4 separate regions of the Homo sapiens genome follow, and all the other regions are linked to region 2. The links are contacts of gene promoters, found by promoter capture Hi-C in human tissues and cell types (Jung and others, 2019). All regions are on one chromosome and are shown on one strand. The core of a region is centred on a gene start or on the middle of the fragment in contact, and the rest is flanking DNA. Distances in the headings are between cores, read along the strand shown.

Evidence for each region. Contacts are between HindIII fragments. The study calls those that stand out against the background at their distance.
Region 1: the fragment with the promoter of TSSK6 here is called in contact with the fragment with the promoter of ZNF14 in region 2 in 1 of the 25 tissues and cell types used here (adrenal gland).
Region 3: a fragment that was not itself captured here is called in contact with the fragment with the promoter of ZNF14 in region 2 in 1 of the 25 tissues and cell types used here (IMR-90 fibroblasts).
Region 4: a contact is called between a fragment that was not itself captured here and the fragment with the promoter of ZNF14 in region 2, in 1 of the 25 tissues and cell types used here (bladder).

What each region holds. Positions count from the first base shown.
Region 1 is chr19:19,513,609-19,516,838 of GRCh38, reverse strand. TSSK6 (testis specific serine kinase 6) reads left to right here and starts at 1,291. Exons shown (of 1, transcript NM_032037.4): 1 at 1,291-2,620. The coding sequence starts at 1,412. The coding sequence ends at 2,233. It overlaps NDUFA13 (NADH:ubiquinone oxidoreductase subunit A13), which reads right to left and starts at 614. Exons shown (of 5, transcript NM_015965.7): 1 at 507-614. The coding sequence starts at 600. RefSeq lists an enhancer at 436-715 and a silencer at 926-1,045. The HindIII fragment of the contact is 21,153 bases long and covers 1-3,230 here.
Region 2 is chr19:19,731,663-19,734,725 of GRCh38, reverse strand. It overlaps ZNF14 (zinc finger protein 14), which reads left to right and starts at 1,614. Exons shown (of 4, transcript NM_021030.3): 1 at 1,614-1,770. The coding sequence starts at 1,768. RefSeq lists a silencer at 1,959-2,108. The HindIII fragment of the contact is 10,257 bases long and covers 1-3,063 here.
Region 3 is chr19:19,882,987-19,886,010 of GRCh38, reverse strand. All of the region lies in intron 3 of ZNF253 (zinc finger protein 253), which reads right to left. Among named protein-coding and RNA genes, the nearest start is that of ZNF93, 16 kb to the left of the region's middle. The HindIII fragment of the contact is 7,378 bases long and covers 1-3,024 here.
Region 4 is chr19:19,591,671-19,595,153 of GRCh38, reverse strand. The region is part of intron 2 of PBX4 (PBX homeobox 4); the gene reads left to right. Among named protein-coding and RNA genes, the nearest start is that of PBX4, 25 kb to the left of the region's middle. RefSeq lists an enhancer at 1,914-2,538. The HindIII fragment of the contact is 8,394 bases long and covers 1-3,483 here.

The DNA of each region.
Region 1 (3,230 bases), core at 42-2,541, 220 kb after region 2:
TCCAGCCTGGGCAACAAGAGCAAAACTCCGTCTCAAAAAAAAAAAATTGAAAATTTAAAGAATATGGATTCCTGTGACACCATGCAGGCGGGGGCTGCCAGCAGGGAACCACTGCATAGAACATCTTGTAAATTCCCTCCAGGTTCCGGGTTGCGGCCTCAGCTTTGCCTTGGGGAGCCGCGGCCTTCTTTGGGCCTCAGTTTCCCCATCTTAGAAATCCAAGGGTGGCTGAGGGCCAGAGCACAGGCTATGACTCAGTTTAACCCACTGTAAAACGTAAATAACTAGAGGGACCGATTTCCTGGGCTGTTACGAGAAGGAAGAGGAGCTGGGAAAGACCTCAACAAACTGCAGCACTTAGCGTTATTACAGAAGCTATGATGGATCCCCGGGCTCCGCCTCCGGTCACACCGCCGGGAAAACTGAGGCCCGCCTGTGTCCCCGGAACCCCGCCCCCGAGCCCCGAGTGCCCAGACTCTGAGACCCCGGCGCAGAGTGATACTGACCCGACAGTCCTCGACGCGGCAAGTTCCGTTTGTAGTCGATGGGCCCATAGCCCCCCGGCGGAGGCATGTCCTGCTTCACCTTTGACGCCGCCATACTCGCAGTATCCCACACTTCCGGTCCCGGGCGGAAGTGACTTACTGCCACCGCCATGATGAGTGTGGCGGAAGCACTTGAGATGGTCCGCGGCACGGCTAGGAAGTCCCGGACAGTAGTGTAACTATCCGACCGCGCGGGAAAGCTCTGGCGGCGGACCCTGGGTAGGAATGCGCTGCCGGGCTGCAGCTGAGGGGTCTTTACTCCTCTTTTGCCCAGACAGGGCGTGACTCGCCTTGGTTCTTGCATTATAGGCCCTCGCGTTCACCTTGCCTCTGGGGTGTTGCGCAGGCCAGTCAGAAACTCCGAGCTCTCAAAGGAGCCAGGTGCCCCAGTTAAGGCCCCTTTTCCCGTTTTCGCCCCGTCTAGGGACTCTACGCGAAGCCCAGGGCTCCACGTAGTCACGGGCTGGGTACATGATGTTGGGGGGCAGCTGCTGCTCGAAGTCGGACTCACCCCAATCCCTGGAACGGATTCTGCTCCCTGGTGGTGATGGGTATCCCTTGCTAGTGGCCTCTCATCGGAAACTGACCATTCAGGATGATTATGAGTCACAAAGCAGGGAGGCTAGGGTGGCCCCGGGGCGGGGTCCCGGACCCCCACCCTAAGGCGGAGTGACGCCCGCAGTCACTTCACAAGGCAAAAATTGTTACGGGGCAATAAAAGGCACAACAGCGGCCAATGTCTGGCAGTGGGCACATGGGGGTGCGGGGGTGTAGGTGCCAAGCGCCATGGCTTAGACCCGAGATTGGAGTCCGGCCGCCCCCCGACAGCAGCCGCCTCCTGCCCCCCGTGCGCCCTAGGCGCCACCATGTCGGGAGACAAACTTCTGAGCGAACTCGGTTATAAGCTGGGCCGCACAATTGGAGAGGGCAGCTACTCCAAGGTGAAGGTGGCCACATCCAAGAAGTACAAGGGTACCGTGGCCATCAAGGTGGTGGACCGGCGGCGAGCGCCCCCGGACTTCGTCAACAAGTTCCTGCCGCGAGAGCTGTCCATCCTGCGGGGCGTGCGACACCCGCACATCGTGCACGTCTTCGAGTTCATCGAGGTGTGCAACGGGAAACTGTACATCGTGATGGAAGCGGCCGCCACCGACCTGCTGCAAGCCGTGCAGCGCAACGGGCGCATCCCCGGAGTTCAGGCGCGCGACCTCTTTGCGCAGATCGCCGGCGCCGTGCGCTACCTGCACGATCATCACCTGGTGCACCGCGACCTCAAGTGCGAAAACGTGCTGCTGAGCCCGGACGAGCGCCGCGTCAAGCTCACCGACTTCGGCTTCGGCCGCCAGGCCCATGGCTACCCAGACCTGAGCACCACCTACTGCGGCTCAGCCGCCTACGCGTCACCCGAGGTGCTCCTGGGCATCCCCTACGACCCCAAGAAGTACGATGTGTGGAGCATGGGCGTCGTGCTCTACGTCATGGTCACCGGGTGCATGCCCTTCGACGACTCGGACATCGCCGGCCTGCCCCGGCGCCAGAAACGCGGCGTGCTCTATCCCGAAGGCCTCGAGCTGTCCGAGCGCTGCAAGGCCCTGATCGCCGAGCTGCTGCAGTTCAGCCCGTCCGCCAGGCCCTCCGCGGGCCAGGTAGCGCGCAACTGCTGGCTGCGCGCCGGGGACTCCGGCTAGAAGCCGGGTGGTTCCAGCCATTCCTGCAGCCAAGGGCACTGGGCCAGGGCGGCGCACGCGCAAGAGGCGCGCTTCGAGGGAATATGCGAAGCTGCCGCGTGCTGCTGCACATGCGCTTTTTCCCTTCCGCTTCCCTCCCTTTCTTCCCACGGGGGAGTCCGCAGTTGCCCTTGTTCGGAATCCACGTTCCCCGCGATCCCGGGAGCTGGAGGCGCATGCGCATCCGCGATTCCCTGCGACCAGGCCCCGAGAGGGCGAGACCAGAGGGGACGGAAGCATTGCGCCTGCGCGGAACTCTCAGCCTCTGCGCGGAGGGCGTCCCTTCCCAACCAGCCGTGGGTGCCAGGTTCCCGGTTGGAACCTGCAATAAACTCGCTGTTCCTCGCACCTGGCTCTAACGGTGGCCCCCATTTGCGGACTAGTGGAGAAGCGATCGCTCCATCCGGGGAAGGCAGGCGCGGGTACCCTATTTTAGAGTCACGCATGTTGAGGTTATTGCTCCAAGACTCAAAAGGGAGTCGGGAGGATTCGAGCCTGGACCTTTTGAGCTCCCCAGTATGGGCAAACTCAAAGGAGCTTTGTTGTCCCCGGGTCGTGATGTCGCTGTGATGATGGGCTGGGAAGCAAGTGGACCCCAGCGCCTCGCCGTCCACATCTTTTAAGAATGGAACAGCCAGGGGTGGGGCGAGGGTGGCCTGTCTCCACGTAAAGTAGGAGTTTATAGATAAGGAAACTGAGGCCCACATGGATGTCACTTGCCAAAAGGCAGAGCCAAGGGCCAGGCGCGGTGGCTCACGCCTGTAACCCCAACACTGCGAGTCCGAAGCGGGCAGATATCTTGAGGTCAGGAGTTCGAAAACAGCCTGGGCATCACAGCCGAGACCTCATCTCTTGTTTGTTTGTTTGTTTGTTTGTTTGTTTTTTGAGACAGAGTCTCGCTCTGTCGCCCAAGCTGGAGTGCAGTGGCACGATCTCGGCTCACTGCAACCTCCGCCTC
Region 2 (3,063 bases), core at 365-2,864:
CACGCCATTGCACTCCAGTCTGAGCAACAGAGCAAGACTGTCTCAAAAAAAAAAAAAGAAAGAAAGATAAATAGATCCAGAAAAATCCAGAAATTTGATATCTACATACAATAGAATACAATTCTATTCTATTGTATGTAGATTTAGGAACTGACTAATTTAGGAACTCTTTAAAAAATGTTTAAATAAAGCATTAAAAAGAAGTAAATTGGGGACAGGCGAGGTGGCTCACACCCCCAGCACTTTGGGAGGCCAAAGAGGGCAGATCACCTGAGGTCAGGCGTTCGAGACCAGCCTGGCCAACATGGTGAAACTCTATCTCTACTACAATACAAAAATCAGCCGGGAGTAGTGGTGGGCGCCTGTAATCCTGGCTACTCAGGAAGCTGAGTCAGGAGAATCACTTGAACCTGGGAGGCAGAGGTTGCGGTGGCTGAGCGCCACTGCACTCCAGCCTGGGCAACGAGAGCGAGACTCCATCTCCAAAGGAAAAAAAAAGAAGTAAATTGGCCGGTGGCAGTGGCTCACACCTGTAATCCCAGCACTTTGAGAGGTCGAGGCAGGAGGATTGCTTGAACCTAGGAGTTCGAGACCAGCCTGGGCAACAGAAGGAGACACACATCTCTACCAAAAATTAAAATTAAAATTAAAACAATTAGCCAGGCCTGGTAGTGCGTGCGTGTAGTCCCAGATACTTAGGAGGCTCAGGTTGGAGGCTTGCTTGAATCCAGGAGTTGAAGCCTGCAGTGAGCAATGATCACACCACTGCACTTCAGCCTGGGCTACAGAGCAAAACCCTGTCTCTTAAAAAAAAAAAAAAGAAGAAGAGGCCGGGCGTGGTGGCTCACGCCTGTAATCCCAACGCTTTGGGAGGCCGAGGCCGGCAGATCACGAGGTCAGGAGATCGAGACCATCCTGACTAACACAGTGAAACCCCGTCTCTACTAAAAAAATACAAAAAATTAGCCGGGCGTGGTGGCGGGCGCCTGTATTCCCAGCTACTCGTGAGGCTGAGGCAGGAGAATGGCGTGAACCCGGGAGGCGGAGCTTGCAGTGAGCCGAGATGCGCCACTGCACTCCAGCCTGGGCGACAGAGCGAGACTCCGTCTCAAAAAAAAAAAAAAAAAGAAGAAATAAATCCTAACACATACTACAAGGTGAAGCTCGAGGACATTATGCTAAGTGAAATAAGCACGTCAGGAAAGGACAAATACTTTATGACGCCATTTACATGAGATTCCCACAGTCAAATTCACGAACTCAGACAATGGAATGGAGGTTGCAAAAGACCCTGAGGGAAGGAGGTGCACGGGGAGTTGTGCAACGAGACAGATTTCAGTGTTGCAAGATGAAAACAATTCTGGAAATTGGCTTCACAATGTGAATGTATTTAACAGTACTGAAGAGAACACTTAAAATGGATGGGAGGCAAAGAACACATTCGGTTTAAACGCAAACGTCCTGGCGGGGACAAGCCGGACTGAAGCCAGGCCAGCTCAACCACGCCCCTTCCTGCTCCGCTGTCACTCAGTGATAAAGAGGCGGGGCCATTGGATCTGTCCAATCAGGACCTCAGCTGAAAAGATGTGAGCGGCGCCACGCTGGGCCTGCGCAGTGCGGACGTCGCCATTCCTGGCCCATGGGAAGATTGCGTTTCACCTGCTCCTGAAGGCCGAAGGTGGCTCTAGCGCATCCTTTGTCGCGCCGTGACCTGCAGGTACTGACAGATCCGTAGGGAGGACACCGTGACTTCCCGGACGCTGGGAAATGGTGAGTGTGCGGGGCCAGTGTCCGAGGGGAGGTTTCTGGTTGGAACCGTCTGTGGCCGAGGCCGGGGACCTCCTTGCAGTCAACTCCGGGGTTTGCAGACCCGGGGGCCACCGCGGGCGCAGTTCGGCCCTCGGTCCTCTCTGTGGGAGCTGGACCCGCAGCCGGGAGCCCCAGCGTCCTGTCCCGTCCCCGCGGGGCGACCTCGGCCCCCGGTCCTGGAGCCCTCTATGGGCAGCTCTGCGCCCGCAGCCCCGCGTCTCCCCGGATTGTTCGGTGACAGCGGGAGGGTCCTGGGGAGATCCCATCTCGGTCTGTGGGGTTTGTGCGTTTAAGAAACCACTTGGTTGGAAACCTTACGATGAATCCACGGGTGCGTTTCCTCACTTGTGAGAACCGAAGCCTGGCTAGGTCCTTGCTGCCGGGGTCAGGTTCCTGTGGCTGTTCAAACGCCCCTGCCCTCATCACCAGGGACTGACCCCCTCTAGTGCTCCCAGCACTCAAGTCTGGGGGTGTTTTTGACCTTCTGAATGTGGGCTTTCTTTTCGAACTGCGGGGAAGGGGACTCCTTATCTTAACTGATCAGAAAGTTTGTGTTTCTTCCCTTTGGACTCCTTGATCAAATATTAATTCTAGCCACCCTTAATTCCAGTTTCCCTTCGCTCTGGGTAATTTTGTTCCCTTGCGTGAATGTGTGCGATTTTTAGTTTCTTTGGTTTCTGGATGGAATTAATTGTGAGCTTGTTCAGGTTCTTTTAAATTTTCTTGTTTGTGTGTGTTTATCTGTGTGGTTTCTACCCAAGAGATTTCGCCTATGTTGGAGTGCCATGATGATGCAAAATCTCTGTATGTCATTTGTTCCGTATATAAGTGGTAAGCATTTTTTTTTGTGTGTGACGGAGTCTCGCTCTGTCGCCCGGGATGGAGTGCAGTGGCGCGATCTCCAGCTCACTGCAAGCTCCGCCTCCCAGGTTCAAGCCATTCTGCCTCAGCCTTCCCAGTAGCTGGGACTACAGGCGCCCGCCACCACGCCCAGCTAATTTTTTTGTATTTTTAGTAGAGACGGGGTTTCACCGTGTTAGCCAGGATGGTCTCGATCTCCTGACCTTGTGATCTGCCCGCCTTGGCCTCCCAAAGTGCTGGGATTACAGGCGTGAGCCACCGCGCCCGGCTAAGTGGTAAGCTTTGAGGTGTTTGTGAGAGTGATGTTTATGACACACACCACTTTGATACATTCTGATTGTAAGTGTATGTTGTGATTTTTTCTTTCCTCGTGTGGTTGTAATAGGTCAGTGT
Region 3 (3,024 bases), core at 244-2,743, 150 kb before region 2:
AACAACAACAACAAAACAATTTTAAAAGACTAAAATTATACACTGTGTGTTTTCTAACAAAAACTGAATGAAATTAGGAATTAAAAGCAAAAGTCAAATGGCAAATTCAAAAGCATGTGAATATAAAACACACTTCAACATTCTTGCTCAGGGGTCAAAAAATTTCATTGTTCAAAGATGTCAATACAACAGTTAAAAGCTACAGTATCAACACTGATAAAATAAAGTTGGATTATTTCCTTGAATGATACAAAAATACATTTTAAATAAAATACTTAGACAAAATAAACTAACAAATATTTTAGAAAAAATACAAAACAAGCCGGGCACGGTGGCTGATGCCTGTAATCCCAGCACTTTGGGAGGCCGAGGCGGACGGATCATGAGGTCAGGAGATCGAGACCATCCTGGCTAACATGGTGAAACCCCGTCTCTATTAAAAATACAAAAAACTTAGCCGGGCATGGTGGCGGGCGCCCATAGTCCCAGCTACTTGGGAGGCTGAGGCAGGAGAATGGCGTGAACCCAGAAGGCAGAGCTTGCAGTGAGCTGAGATTGCGCTACTGAACTCCAGCCTGGGGGACAGAGCAAGACTCCATCTAAGAAAAGAAAGAAAGAAAAGAAAGAAAAGAAAGAAAAGAAAGAAAAGAAAGGAAGAAAGAAAGAAAGAAAGAAAGAAAGAAAGAAAGAAAGAAAGAAAGAAAGAAAGAAAAGAAAGAGAAAGAAAGAAAGAAAGAAAGAAAGAAAGAAAGAAAGAAAGAAAGAAAGAAAGAAAGAAAGAAAGAAAGAAAGAATACAAAAAAAAGACATGACATTGGTCTTGGCACCATTTTTTTAGGTACGACATTAAATGTATGAGCAACAAATAAAAGAACAAAAAAGTTTAACTACACTATACTTCAAAATTTCTGAAAGAAAAAAATTTCAGGAGTGACAACGTCCCTTAGAAAATAGTTGAAAACATTTACATATTACTTGTTAAAAGAGTTAATATTCAAAATATATAAATGACTCTTAAAACTAACAGTAAATTTGAATAACTTGATTTAGAAATGGACAAATTTTTCTCAAAAAAATACACAAAATTGGAAAATGCATTTGAAAGCACACACAAAATTACTAATTTGTAGAGAAATGAAAAAAGAAACATAACAAACAAAATCACCTCATACCCATTAGAATGGCCACTATAATTTTTTTTTGATACACCAAATCTGTTGATGATGCAATAAAAATGAAACCCATGTTGACTGCTGGTGGAAAATAATGATGCAGCCATTATTTTAAAATGTTAGAAATGTTCCTTATTTATAAATCTATATCTAAAATACATAACACAGGCGAAGTGTAGTGGCTCAAGCCTGTAATCATAGCACACTGGGAGGCCAAGGTGGGCAGATCACCTGAGGTCAGAAGTTCAAAACCAGCCTGGCCACCATGGTGAAACACCATGTCTACTAAAAATACAAAAACTAGATGGGTGATGTTACGTGCACCTGTAATCCCAGGAACTTGGGAGGCTGAGGTAGGAGAATCGCTTGAACCCCAAAGGCAGAGGTTGCAGTGAGCTGAGATCACACGACTACACTCCAGCCTGGGTGACAGCGGGAGACTCGATCTCAAAAAAAAAATAAAAATAAAAATAACAAACAACAAAAGAAACAAAATATGTAACACAGGACCTGGAAGACATATTTGAAAATATATGTTTATTGTACCAGTATTCACAAAAGTCAAAAGGCTGAAGCAACCCAGATGTCCCTTGATTTATAAACATATCAAAAAATGTAACATATACATATGATGGAATATTATTCCACCTTAAAAATAACCATCTTGTCACATTTTAAGATGAAGATTGAGAATATTATGTCACCTGAATTAAACCAGTAACAAAATTATGGATACTATATGATTCCACTTATATGAGGTATCTTTTTTTTTTTTTTTTTTGAGATGGAGTTTCACTCTTGTTGACCAGGCTGGAGTGCAATGGCCCGATCTTGGCTCACTGCAACCTCCACCTCCCAGGTTCAAGCGATTTTCCTATCTCAGCCTCCCGAGGAGCTGGGATTATAGGCATGCGCCACCATGCCTGGCTAATTTTTTTGTATTTTAGTACAGACAGGGTTTTTCCATGTTGGTCAGGCTGGTCTCAAACTCCCGATCTCAGGTGATCTGCCTGCCTCAGCCTCCCAAAGTGATGGGATTACAGGTGTAAGCCACCACACCCAGCTATATGAGGTATCATAAGTAGTCAAAAATCATAAAACAGAAAGTTGAAGGTTTGTCTGTCAGGGCTGGAGAGAGGGTAAAATGAGCAGTTGTTACTTAATGGGAATTAAGTTTTAGCTTTATAAGATGTAAAGTTTCTAGAAGTCTTTTGCATAACAGTGTGAATATACTTAACATGCCTGAAATGAACAACTTTTTTTTGAGACAGGGTCTCACTCTGTCCCCCAACCTGCAATGTAGTGGCACAATTTTGAATCCCTCTCAATCTCCCAAGTAGCTGGGACCACAGGTGCACACCACCATGCTTGGCTATTATTAAATTTTTTTTATAGAGAGAGGTCTCCATATATTCCCCAGGCGGCTCTCAAACTTTTAGGCTCCAGGGATCCTCCTGCCTTGGCCTCGCAAAATCCTGGGATTACAGATGAGAGCCACAACCACACTTGGCCCTGAAATGTACACTTCAATAGATTTAAGACATTAAATTTTATGTTATGTGTTTTTAAAACAAGTTTTAAAGAAAAACAGAAAAAAATACAGAATTATAAATCCTTTTGAAAATTACCTTCAAATCACAAAAGTGCTTTTCTCACAAAAGGAAATATATATTCATCATTAAACACATGGAAAAAATAAAACTATCTCAATGACTGCTCACTTAAGATAAAACTACCATGGAAAATCAGCTAAGAAAGAATATAAGATAAGCCATAACTAAAATTGGGGTCATATTTATAGATAAACACACATACATATGTAATCTGATTGTAATAAACATGCATAATTTAT
Region 4 (3,483 bases), core at 350-2,849, 140 kb after region 2:
CCTTGCTCACCCCTGACCCTGACCCCAGGAAGCAGCCTTTGGGGGCTCCCCACTGCCCACAGCGGATGTTTAGCAATGCAACATCTGGAATTTAGTAATAATAAAAAACTATTTTAAAAAGTACTTTTTAAAGGCTGGGTGCGGTGGCTCACGCCTGTAATCCCAGCACTTTGGGAGGCCGAGGCAGTTGGACCACCTGAGATCAGGAGTTCGAGACCAGCCTGACCAACATGATGAAACCCCGTCTCTACTAAAAATACAAAAATTAGCTGGGCGTGGTGGCATGCGCCTGTAATCCCAGTTACTCAGGAGGCTGAGGCAGGAGTATCACTTGAACCCAGGAGGCAGAGGTTGCAGTGAGATGACATTGCGCCACTGCACTCCAGCCTGGGTGACAGAGTGAGACCCTGTCTAAAAAAAAAAAGTACTTTAATCAACTGTAGTCTCAGGAAGCTGTCATTCTTGACCTTCCTACCAGTGAGCTGCTGGGGCTGAACGAGAAACCAATTTTTGAGAGTGTGGGTGTTCAGCCTGGGCACGCCTCTTCATAATTCCATCTGCCCCTGTGTGGATGTTACTGCATGAGTCTGTTAGTCTCAAATTCAGCAGTTTCAGGAGGGAAAACAAGAGTTGATACCAACTGTTGCCAGTGCAGCTGAGATGTCTGTCCATTTCAACCGCTGGTGTCGCCCCACCTCCCTACCCCCATCTGCCTAGGCTTTGAGGGCCATGCTCAGGACTCTTTTTTTTTTTTTTTTAGACAGAGTTTCACTCTTGTTGCCTAGGCTGGAGTGCAATGGCGCAATCTCGGCTCACTGCCTCCCAGGTTCAAGCAATTTTCCTGCCTCAGCCTCCCGAGTAGTTGGGATTACAGGCATCTGCCACCACACCCGGCTAATTTTTTGTATTTAGTAGAGACAGGGTTTCACCCTGTTGGTCAGGCTGGTCTTGAACTCTTGACCTCAGGTGATCCGCCCGCCTCGGCCTCCCAAAGTGCTGGGATTACAGCCATGTGCCACCATGCCCGGCGACATTTTTAATTTTTTATTTTTTATTTTTTTTTTTTTTTAATTAAGACACAGAGTCTCACTGTGTTGCCCAGATTGGCTTCAAACTCCTGGGCTCAAGTGATCCTCACACCTCAGCTTCCGCACACACCACCATGTCTAGGGGTCGCTGAGGACTATTTTTGGGGGGATGAGGTCTTAGTATGTTGCCCAGGTTGGCCTTGAACTCCTGAGCTCAAGTGATCCTCCTGCCTCAGCCTCCCAAGGTGTGGGGTTACAGGCAGGCGCCACTGTGCCTGGCCACTCAGGACTTTTGATTCCTCCAAGCTGAGTCCCAAGGCCGCTGCAGGGCTCAGAGCACCGGCCACCTGGGCATTTCCTTGGAAGCTAATGCTTTCTTCCCACTGACTGGCTCAAACATCTGGGTACAGGGTATGTTTTGGGGTACAGTAGGACAGGGATGAGACAGCAACTGCTCCTCCCTGAAATGCACAAGCCTGGAGCTGAGGGATGCCTGTTCCTGAGTGTCACCTGGAGTGTCCAGGTATCTTTTTATATCAGGAAGTGCAGTCAGTGAGTGCTGTGGGTCCCACCTGTGGGCCACCTGCCTTGATGTCAGGAACACCTCAGCCTTCTAGTCTCGGAGACAAACCAGCCAGTGGCAGGAAAGTAAACAGGATTTCGATTCTGCTCCATCTGTCCTCATCCCGTGACTAGGAATGGCCAAGTCTCAGCCCAGAGGAAACTGTTCATGGTCCTGATCCTGCACCCTGTGGTACCCACGGGCCGCCTCTTGAAGGGCAATCCCATGAGCCGGGGTCCTGGCGTGCTTCTCGATTTAACCCACAGTTCTCACATTTCCCTCTGGCTGAAGTCTGCAGCAGGCCTTATGGTAAAGACCAAACTTCCACAGAGCATTTAAAGCCTGGTGGGGCAGGACATGGTGGCTCACACTTATAATCCCAGTACTTTGGAATCGCTTGAGCCCAAGAGTATGAGACCAACCTGGGCAACACAGTAAGACCCTGTCTCTACAACAACAACAACGGCAAAGATTAAGTCTGGTGGGTATTGATGGAGCCTGGGCAGGCAGCTCGGGGCTTCCTCGAGTTGTTCCCCAGAGCCCTGCACAGCCTCGGGCAGACCCTTTTCTCCCGTTTTACAGATGGGCAGTGGGAAGCTCTAAGAGACAGGGGCCTCCCCAGGGCACACCAGTCACCCACAGCCAGGCTGCATGCCGCCCCACCCCGTACACTGTCCTCACTCATGAAAGGGACCCAGGGCCTGTCCCTCATGGCCGGCACTCATGGGCCCCACACACCCACCTGTGTCATCTGAACAATGACCATTCCTGGCCAGCGCAGGGTCTAGGATGCGCTATGTTCTCAGGGTCTGTCCCGGTGCCTTTCTGTTTTTGTTGATTGAAAAACTGTTTCTGGTGACTGATACATACTAACTGAAATCCCTTTCATCCAGTTCCCCTTATGAGGTTCAGAAGATTCAGTGTCTGGGGGCCTGACTTAGAACACAGGGCTTATCACTCACAGCAGCCTGAAAAGAACGTGGTCCTCCATGTAAACCTGGCATCACCGGATGCACTGCCAGCAGTCCCTGGTGAACCCCAGGAATGGCCTGTCGGAGGTATGCAGGCAGGTCCCTCAAAGCTTGTCTCCTGGGGTCAGCTTCACCACACCACAGTGTCTGGGTGTTCCTGCCCTGCGGTGGTCTCTGAAGGCCAAGGACACCCTCAGCGTATGCATTTCCTCCCAAACCCTCCTTCCCAGAAACAGCTGTCCTCCTCGGTGTCTAGAGGAGCTGTTCTGAGAACAAAATAAACCCTGATTAGTTGCAGAGCTTTGAATTTAGCTGGGAGAACCAGATACGGGCCACAGTCCCTTTGCTGAGACCCTGGGACTAGGTATGTTGCAGAATTCGAAAGCGTTGGATTTAAGATGTGTCACGTTGGCCAGGTACAGTGGCTCACGCCTATAATCCCAGCACTTTGGGAGGCTGAGGCAGACGGATCACCTGAGGTCAGGAGTTCGAGACCAGCCTGGCCAATATGGTGAACCACCCCCCCACCTCCCTCACCCACCCATCTCTACTAAAAATACAAAAACTAGCTGGGCATGGTGGCGGGTGCCTATAATCCTAGCTACACGGGAGGCTGAGGCAGAAGAATCACTTGAACCTGGGATGTGAGGTTTGCAGTGAGCTGAGATCACACCACTGCACCCCAGCTTGGGCGACAAAGTGAGACTCTGCCTCTAAAAAAATATAAAAATAAAAAATAAGGTTTGTCACATTGATGTTCCCAGTGAGGACTGAGGCGTGGCCTGAATTCACACAGTGGTGTTTGGCACCAGAGCAGGGACAGCCTGGCACGTTGGAATGTGTCAGGCTTTACCTCCACATGAGCATGAGTGACAGCTTGTGTGAAAAGCTTCGGATCTCAGATCTCGAGTGGGTAGGCAGC